Linked DNA regions of Homo sapiens: regions 2 and 3 are each linked to region 1. Evidence: promoter capture Hi-C in 16 types of primary human blood cells and fetal thymus (Javierre and others, 2016). All regions are on one chromosome and are shown on one strand. The core of a region is centred on a gene start or on the middle of the fragment in contact, and the rest is flanking DNA. Distances in the headings are between cores, read along the strand shown. Region 1 holds the start of EPM2A (EPM2A glucan phosphatase, laforin). Region 2 overlaps UTRN (utrophin). Region 3 overlaps ADGB (androglobin).

What was found. Contacts are between HindIII fragments. The CHiCAGO score rates a contact against its expected background, and 5 or more counts as called.
Region 2: a fragment that was not itself captured here is called in contact with the fragment with the promoter of EPM2A in region 1 in 1 of 17 cell types (fetal thymus); the score reaches 9.9 in fetal thymus.
Region 3: a contact is called between a fragment that was not itself captured here and the fragment with the promoter of EPM2A in region 1, in 1 of 17 cell types (fetal thymus). The highest score is 5.6, in fetal thymus.

The regions. Positions count from the first base shown.
Region 1 is chr6:145,733,981-145,736,969 of GRCh38, reverse strand. It overlaps EPM2A (EPM2A glucan phosphatase, laforin), which reads left to right and starts at 1,450. Exons shown (of 4, transcript NM_005670.4): 1 at 1,450-1,772. The coding sequence starts at 1,472. EPM2A-DT (EPM2A divergent transcript) reads right to left here and starts at 2,101. Exons shown (of 3, transcript NR_038246.1): 1 at 2,050-2,101. RefSeq lists enhancers at 1,036-1,085, 1,106-1,155, 1,166-1,225 and a silencer at 1,386-1,975. The HindIII fragment of the contact is 8,125 bases long and covers 144-2,989 here.
Region 2 is chr6:144,585,488-144,588,476 of GRCh38, reverse strand. The region is part of intron 51 of UTRN (utrophin); the gene reads right to left. Among named protein-coding and RNA genes, the nearest start is that of SNORA98, 180 kb to the right of the region's middle. The HindIII fragment of the contact is 3,913 bases long and covers 1-2,989 here.
Region 3 is chr6:146,766,366-146,769,354 of GRCh38, reverse strand. ADGB (androglobin) reads right to left here. Exons shown (of 36, transcript NM_024694.4): 29 at 224-335. All of the region lies in intron 1 of LOC105378040 (a long non-coding RNA gene), which reads left to right. Among named protein-coding and RNA genes, the nearest start is that of ADGB, 170 kb to the right of the region's middle. The HindIII fragment of the contact is 258 bases long and covers 1,308-1,565 here.

The DNA.
Region 1 (2,989 bases), core at 201-2,700:
TTACTCTAAGAATATCTTTTAACAGCAATTTGAATAAACCGACTCACATGCCACTGTGATTTAATGTGTGATTTGCTGCCGAATCAGCTGTGTTTGGCCAGCCCTTCTGTCTTCACATTTTTCATAGTGTTTATCCTTAAGCTTAGCAACCAACCAAACTTCGAGTGGAATATCAACATTCAAGAGTAAAATGTATTATTAGTTTTCTAATTGTTCCACAAGAGATTGAGTTTGTGTAGTTTACATTTTTGCACTTTCTGTTTTACTTATATCCTCAACGCATGAAATTTTGGCCTGTTCCCCTTTACTATTCACAAACTTCCAAACACTGGTAAAAATGCCTTTGTGTGTCTTTAATTCACGTAACAGATTTGTGTTATGTTAAATGTTAGTGAATATATAAACCTAAGAATACAAGGATAATTTTGTTAAAGAATCAAAAAGTATCAGGACATTCGTTTGTCTTATGGCAGAGACAAATTGAAGTTCCCCACCAAGATATACGTATTTTGGATTTGGGCCAGACAGCTAAAAAACCTGTTTCAACTTAAAACCCAAAAAGGTTTTAAGTTGAAAAAATAATGCTGACTTTTGCTGAAAGTAAATTTTAAACAAAGGTTTTTTTTTTTAATTTACTCCATTAAAAATGCATACATTTGGACAGAGCGAGACTCTGTCTCAAAAAAAAAAAAAAAAGCATACATTTGTAGTCACAGAATTAGTTTTTGTTTTGACCTTGAAAAGGACTTGAAAGTATTTACTCCAAACTTACTTTACACATACTAAAAATATAGTTTTTGAAAAAAGAAAGTTGATGTGGCTTTTCAGACAAGGGAATGGTAGGTAATGTTTTGCATCAGCTCCGGGTCTTGGGTGATCTCCACCAATCAGAGATCCTTCAGAGCTCGTAGGGTCTAGAAAGATCATTATTTTACACCCTCATTTTACAGACAAAGAACCTGAGACCTGCTAGAGTAAGTGACTTGGTTAAGATAGGGAGCGCTCCAGAGACCAGGTCCAAGATCTTCCCCCGTTTCACAATTAGAAGGCGGCTGTCTAGAGGTCATTCCCTTCCTTATGATCCTCATAAAGTTAATTTCCAGTCTCTTGGAGAGAGAACTGGACGATCGCCTGGCTTAGAAGTTTTCCTCCCTCCCCGAACCCCGTTTTCTCTTCCATTTCTTCCGGTCGCGTGTCCCCAGCGCCCACAGGTGGAAATCAACCGCCCGCGGGGTTGCGGGGCACAAAGAGGCAGCTAGCGGCTCCGCTGACCCCTTCCCGCCGGCCTGGACGAAGTCTGGGCTCGGGAGCCGCGTGATGCATCCCAAAGAAGGCGCAGAACAGCACGTGTTCTCCCCGGTGCCCGGGGCTCCCACACCACCGCCCAATCGCTGCGGCCGCCTAGTGCTCGGGCCGCGCCTGCCGGCCGCGGGGACTCCGGGCCCGGGTATTCGCGCCGCCGCCGCCCGCCATGCGCTTCCGCTTTGGGGTGGTGGTGCCACCCGCCGTGGCCGGCGCCCGGCCGGAGCTGCTGGTGGTGGGGTCGCGGCCCGAGCTGGGGCGTTGGGAGCCGCGCGGTGCCGTCCGCCTGAGGCCGGCCGGCACCGCGGCGGGCGACGGGGCCCTGGCCCTGCAGGAGCCGGGCCTGTGGCTCGGGGAGGTGGAGCTGGCGGCCGAGGAGGCGGCGCAGGACGGGGCGGAGCCGGGCCGCGTGGACACGTTCTGGTACAAGTTCCTGAAGCGGGAGCCGGGAGGAGAGCTCTCCTGGGAAGGTATTGCCAGCAGACGCCTGCCCCCGGCGCAGAGCGGGAGCTCCGGCCCGCACCCCCAACCGGGGCCTCGGCCTCGGGCAGGCCCCGCAGGCCCCGGCGGCGCGCGTCCCGGGCTTTTTGCCCGCGTCCCTGCGCACTCCCCGGGCGACCTGGGCTGACCCTGCTCTGCCGGCCACGCTGTCGCCGCCAGCCGCGCCTCCGGCTTCCTACTGATTCCCTAGACCCGTATAGCGCTCCCGGCCGCCTTCCCGCCCACTCTGTTGCCTGCCCCTCTGACCTGGTTTCCGCACATCCAGTCCTCAGCTTCTTTCCAACCGCGCCTGCGTCACGGGCCAGTGCCCTTCGTCTCCCGCCCGGGGCTCCCTTCGCCCTCCGAGTGCCCCTCGACCTCCGAGTCCCCCCCTTCGCGGGTCCCTTGGCTGCCCGGCCGCGCGCCGCTGATGGCTTCAACAGCCCAACTCCGCCTTGGTTGGGTTTTGTGTCCTCATTTTCCTGCTCTAATTCACTAAAAAAAACCCAAAACGATCCAACCAACGAAACTAGCGTTTTCGCTAATCCTAGACAGCAATGTGCTACTTAGATTTTTTTCATAGATATTGAGAATGAACTAATGGAAAAACGTTGAATATTTCCCTTTTTGGATTTTTTTTTCTTTTTTAATCCCAGATATATGACAATTGAGACATGACCTGATTTCTTAAAATACTAAAACAATACATGCTGGTTGTAAAATAATAATAAAGAAATGTACATAGTGAAAACTTACAGTGTTTCCTCCACACATCTTAAGCACACTGCTTGTACACATTTATGTATGTGATATATGCATATACTTTTTTTTTTTACAAAAATTGTATAGTAATTCTGAATTTTTGCTTTTCTTGCCTAACAATATGTTAGGGACATCTTTCACTGTCACTACACGTAGATATGTATTTTACATGTAGATGTATATTTTAAATGGCAACAAATTATTCTGCATCTACCAATGTGCATTTAGGTTCTTTTCAGTTTTCCTCTGTCGTAAACAGTAGTGGCTTAATTGAAATTCCTTTTACAGATATCTTTGAACATTCGGGAGTGTTTCTGCAGAGTGGATTCAAAGAAGTGAAATTATTAGGTCAAAATGCAGTCATTTTTTTTAACACTTCATTAAAGACTGCTAAATTATGCCCTAAAAGGGTGATTATCTAATGTCGGCTCCCGCCAACAGTGTC
Region 2 (2,989 bases), core at 288-2,787, 1.1 Mb after region 1:
CTATAAAAGAATTTTAAAATGCTACCTTATAGAATGTATTAGTTATTCTTTAAGTGAGTGACAAAGCATTGCATCAGATCTAATTATACTGTTTTTAGCTAATTATATTGACTTTATCCAAGTCATTGATAGCATGAGTTTTCTGATTAAGAAAATGTTAGTTAATTGGATAACTTTTTAAAAACATAATTTTGACAACACATATCAACTTGGGGAACTACAGCAAAACAGAGGTCCAAGAGCTTTCTAAAATGGCACTTGTGCTCTTGGAAGCCACAGGAATCATGTCTGATAGTGGCAGGCAGGGGTGCAGGTGTTTTCTCCTTGATCCCGTCTCACTTTTGTCTGTAATCTTGACCTGACTAGGAAGTGCAGAAACAAACGCAGAGTAGAGAAAGTAGTCTGTGTGGGTATCCATACAGCTCCCAGGAAACACACCTACAGCATCCATAGAGAGGGTTAGATGGAGGCAAACCCATCTACATACGCCATTTTTCTCCATTAAACCTCAACCTTCACACAGTTTCTGTACTAATCTAACCAAGACTTTCTCATGAAGCCAAGAAGAGACAACTCATATGATCAAGTGGGAATTCTAACTTGCAGACTAGAGGGTCATGACTCTGAGCTCCATGGTTCAAACAATCTATGTATGAGTTGGTTATTGAGAGAAACTGAGGGAATCCAAGAGTTGACCTTAAAATACACACATCTCAACAATCAGATCATGTTAAAGTAAATCTCCATTGCCCTGGATCACTTCAGGATTTAATTGTCCAAGGAGAGCAGGGTTCTCCTGTGAAAAAAAGGTGGGGAAATGTTTGAGAGTAAAAAATACAAAATTCAACCGGTCGAAAATACACCACTCCATTCAGTGTCTTCTAAAAAACCACATACTCAACCTTAACTACCTCTAAATACAGGGAGCTGTACATGTAGATGAAAAATAATATGTGACCTTACTTCATCAGTGAACATAAAAACCTGCTGAGAGATTAATGTGCCTTCATGTTCATTATCTATTTACTCATTAGCACTACAAGCAACTACATAGTTCTGTGTTGTCCACGTCCACACATGAAAACACACACACACAGCCACAAAGCAAGCCTTTTGTAGACATCACTGGTCAATCGTGACTTCCCAGGTGGAATCTTCTGGTCTCTTCTATTTTTCACAGAATATTCAGAAGTAGTTGCTTTAATACCACAGAAGACACAGTATTCCGGGGAAGACTTTGAGATCAGCACCACACTGAAAGCTCAAGCCCCCTAGAAGGCCAGGCTAAGAATAGCCATAGTTTCACTCTGTATGTAAATGACTAGTCACCAAAATCGTGTTGTGTATACCACATAGAGAAAAAGAATCAACTGTGGTACAAAAAGGCAACAGTAGAAAGTAAGAACAAAATTATACACTACTAATATTTAATACATGATTTCACCATGGCATATATGTATAATTTTTAAATGAATACACATCTATATACAGCTAGATGTTTAAAAGATTTTTGCTGAAGAAATATGATCAGAATAGTTTGGGGGGTGACTAAAACCACTTAAACTAAAATGATTTACATATACATTCAAGCAAATAGAAGTTATATCACTTAAATCAACATTTTCTAAAATGCTTGAGTCACGAAGGAGTCAATTTACAGCACTAAATATTTTTAAATTTTTCTCATTTTTCTATAATGTTCATATCCCAATCTACTTTACAGGAAACTGCTTTTTACCATGCCCTCAATTGCTAAATATTTTACAGAAATTGGCACTAAGAAAAAAATAAGGAGGACTTACAAAAATCTCTTCTGATTTAACATTAACACAAATAACCCAGTTCTAATCTAAAGACTTCATGATATAAAACACCCCAAAGTAATCACGTAACAATAAAAACAAATTAAATTCAATATTATTTTTCAAATCATTTACATCAGCTTTTTTTCTACTGTGCTCTACTAAAAGAAAAATTATTTTATAGGCATGAAAATTTTAAAGAAACTAAGCAAACAAAACCATATCTGAGAAAATTAGCATCCAGTGTAGGGTGATTTTAGGTCATCAGGGCAATTTCAATGCTGCTAATTATATCTCCAAGTAAGCAGCACTTACGTTTTTGCTTCCTGCTCAAATTTTATTGGATGTATAACCGAGAAGAAATATTTTTAAAGGCAAAAAATACACGTGAATGTGTAAATAGATTGTGGGAGGGGAGTATATTTTAACTCTGAGAGCTGTGACATGCCTTTTTTCATTCCTCCCTTCTCTTTGAAACATACAAGAAAACCCACAAAATGAGAATATTCTACACAAGTATCTACTCGTGTAACACACACACTATCTTCTGACAAACAAGAGAAGTATGAAAATAAGCAGAAAAGACGAGCTGCCACAGAGGGAAAAGTCTAACAAAAGACTAAACAAATAATACATAAAAAGAATGATCCTCAAGAGGAATTTAAAAGAAGATAAAAATATTCAGACACTGAATTTCAAAATGCCAATATGAATTTTAAATAGTCAAATTTCCCTCAGATTATGCCACATTTTATTCTCATTCATTTTGGTCTCTACATGTATTTACAATAGACTGTTTCTGTATTTTTATGGAGATACACAAACTTAAAGCATTTTTTTCTAAGAAACTAAATTTAGAGAATGTGGGAGGAATAAGGAGAAAGTCAAGACAGCATTTACAATTTAATGGGAAGGGAATTTACAGTGTCTTAAAGCAAATAAATGTCAAACCCATTTAAACTTTTAGGTATGACACATGGACTATTGATAATTAAAATACAATTAAGTATTTTTGGTTGGTATAGCTACCTCTATCAATATTTGAGATGGCAACTGTTAATATTTAAGTCTACAACTAAATTTTCATTTCATTACATTAATATAGCTCAATAACTTAGATCAGTTTTCAAAATATAACCACACAAATAAAATTTATCTGTTACTAGTTTATTTATTTCATAGTAATT
Region 3 (2,989 bases), core at 187-2,686, 1.0 Mb before region 1:
CTAACTAATCATATTTTTTCCTTATAAAACAGGCAGTAAAAATATTGAAACATATAATCAATTAACACAACAGGAAATGTAACAGGATATAGAGTACAAATTATAATGTGTAATAAAACATCATACAATGATATTTTCATGACTAAATCAATTTATTATTAAATATTTAAATATCAACTTATTCAAATGTAAAGTGCATGTTTAAACATTTAGGGTGACATACCTTTGGTATTACTTTTCTTTAAGTCTTTCAGTGCTTGAACAAATGTCAGCTGGCTTTCAGTGAGAGGCCAACTGTTATACAACACCGAACACTGTATAATATACTTGTAATTCTGTGAAATAAAATGCAGTGTTTAAAAATGATAAGAACATACATGGTATGTGCCTAATGTCATTTATTATGCTAGGTACATGATAAATGCAGAATTTTCCAGATCAGACAGTCATAATTTAGTTAAATCATGCTGGATGTTCTCCAAAACTCTGTAACGCTACACTTTATAAAAGTTTAATAGCCCCACATCCCCACCAACACCTGCCACTACCCAACTTTATAATTTTTGTGAGTGCAGTGGGTATAAAGTGAAATCTCACTGCTATTGTATTTTGCATTTTTAAGATTACTATAAAGTTTGAGTATTTTTTCAAAGCTGTTGGCCTTTAGGGTTTTCTCTTCTTTGTGATCATGACACAGAAAAAAATAGTCTCCTACATTATCTATTATTATATTTAGGGATTAAAATTTTACAATTAAATGTTCACTATATCTGGAATTCACCTTTATGTATGATGTTAGCTAGTGATCTAGTTTTATTTCTCTCCATGGAGATGTAATTTTCCTAGTACAACCTACTCAATAGTCCATCTTTTCTTCATTGGTTTATGGTGTTGCCTCTATTCTATATGAAATTTTCATAAAAATATGGATCTGTTTCTATCTTACTTTCTCTTATTGTTCCATTTACCTATGTATGCATTAATTAATACTATTTTTACTGCTATATCTTTTTGTCTTTGGAAATACTAAGACACACTTTGCTCTTTTTTCCCCAAGTTCCGTTAGCTATTTGTGAATTGCTATTCATTCCTATGAATTTTAAAGTATCTTTAGAAAATTTCAGAAAAATACAGTGGGAATTTTGATTGGGATTGCATTGAATTTAAAGGCAGATTGAGGATAACATATCTTTATACTGTTATGCCATCTTGCTGAAAAGCATGAAATGCTTCTCTATTTATTCAAGTCATCTGTGTCCATCAGTGGATTGGGTTACTTTCTGTAGCCTTTATTCAAGTGTTAAGCTTTTCTATGTGGAAAACTGATATATTTTTGGTTAATTCCTGGGTGTTTTCTGATTTTGTTGCTGCTATTATTAAAGGCATCATATTCTGATGTCTAATGCATAGTGCCGGTGTAGAGGAACACTACTGATTTTTGTTTAAGTTGTAGTAGCAGAACAGCATTGTGATTAAGGGCATGACCTCATGAGCTAGAGCTGTCTGGGTTGAAGTCCTGCTTTAGCACAAACCAGCTGTTTGGCCTTGAGGAAGTCACTTAAGCTTCCTGTCCTCCAGGTTCCTTGACTGTGAAATACAGATAATAAGAATACTTACTTCAAGAGGCTGAGGTGGGTGGGTCACCTGAGGTCAGGGGTTTGAGACCAGCCTGGCCAACATGGTAGAGAACCCCTTTGTCTACTAAAAATACAAAAAATATTAGCCGGGTGTGGGGGCATGTGCCTATAATCCCAGCTACTCCAGAGGCTGAGACGAGAGAATCACTTGAACCCCGTAGGTGGAGATTGCAGTGAGCTGAGATCACGCCATTGCCTGGACAATGGAGTGAGACTCTGTCTCAAAAAAGAAAAAGAAAAAAGTTGATGGGGAGAATTCAAGATCTATGTGTGAAGCACATAGTATCAGGTGCATAGTAAGTAATAAGTAAGTCAATATATTAGTTATTACTATTAATGTCTTTGGCAATCTTGCCAAAATCTCTTAGTTCTAAAGTTTGTTTATTCTGTTGTTTTTTCTTGGGCATATGATTATATTATCTGTGAGTAATTCAATGATTATTTAGAATAATCTTTTAATTATTTTGTTCTTTGTATCATTGTGGCTTTCCATTATCATAATAGTTCAGTATCATTAAATACTAACAATTATAGCAAGCATTCTTTTCTTATTCCAATTTTAATAGGAACACACTTACACTTCCCACATTAGTATAATGGTTTTGTATATGAGATTTGGCCATTAAGTGTAAAATTTTTGGCATGTAACATTTATGATGAAGAAGTTCTCTCCTATGCCTAGTTTGCTAAGAGCACATTTTAGAAATCCATAAATAGGTGTTAAACTTTGTCAAATGTTTCAGGATTATATGATTGTTCTCATCTAGTGTATTACTGTAGTGACTAATACTGATAGATTTTCCAATGGTAAAAGATTTCTGAATTTCTGAGAAGAATTCTGTCTGATTGCTTAATACACTGCTAGAATTGGATATCTATTATGTTATTTGCAATTTATCACCTATGTTTATAAATACATTTTATTCCTTTTTGTGTTACCTTTATCTGGTTTTGAAATCAGGATTACATTAATTTCTTAAAAAGGATTGAAAAGTTATATTGTTTGTTTTCCGTAAGAAATTACTTTTTAAAAGTCTATTGGACCTATCCTATAAAGCCAAAAGGGGGCCTATGGTTTTTTGGAAAGGGAAGACTTAGAGGACTTTGAATTATCGTTTCAATTTTATTATTCTTTACTGTTTTATTCAGATTTTCTATTTTCTTGTGAATCAACTCTGCGATTTCTCCTCTCCCCCACCCTCAGGAAGTTATGTGTTTCCCCCTCACCCCCAGGTTTAATTTAGTTTAATTTAATTTAATTTAATTTAATTTAATTTAATTTAATTTTACTGAGACAGAGCCTCGCTCTGTCGCCCAGCCTGGAATGCAGTGGTACAATCTCGGCTCGCTGT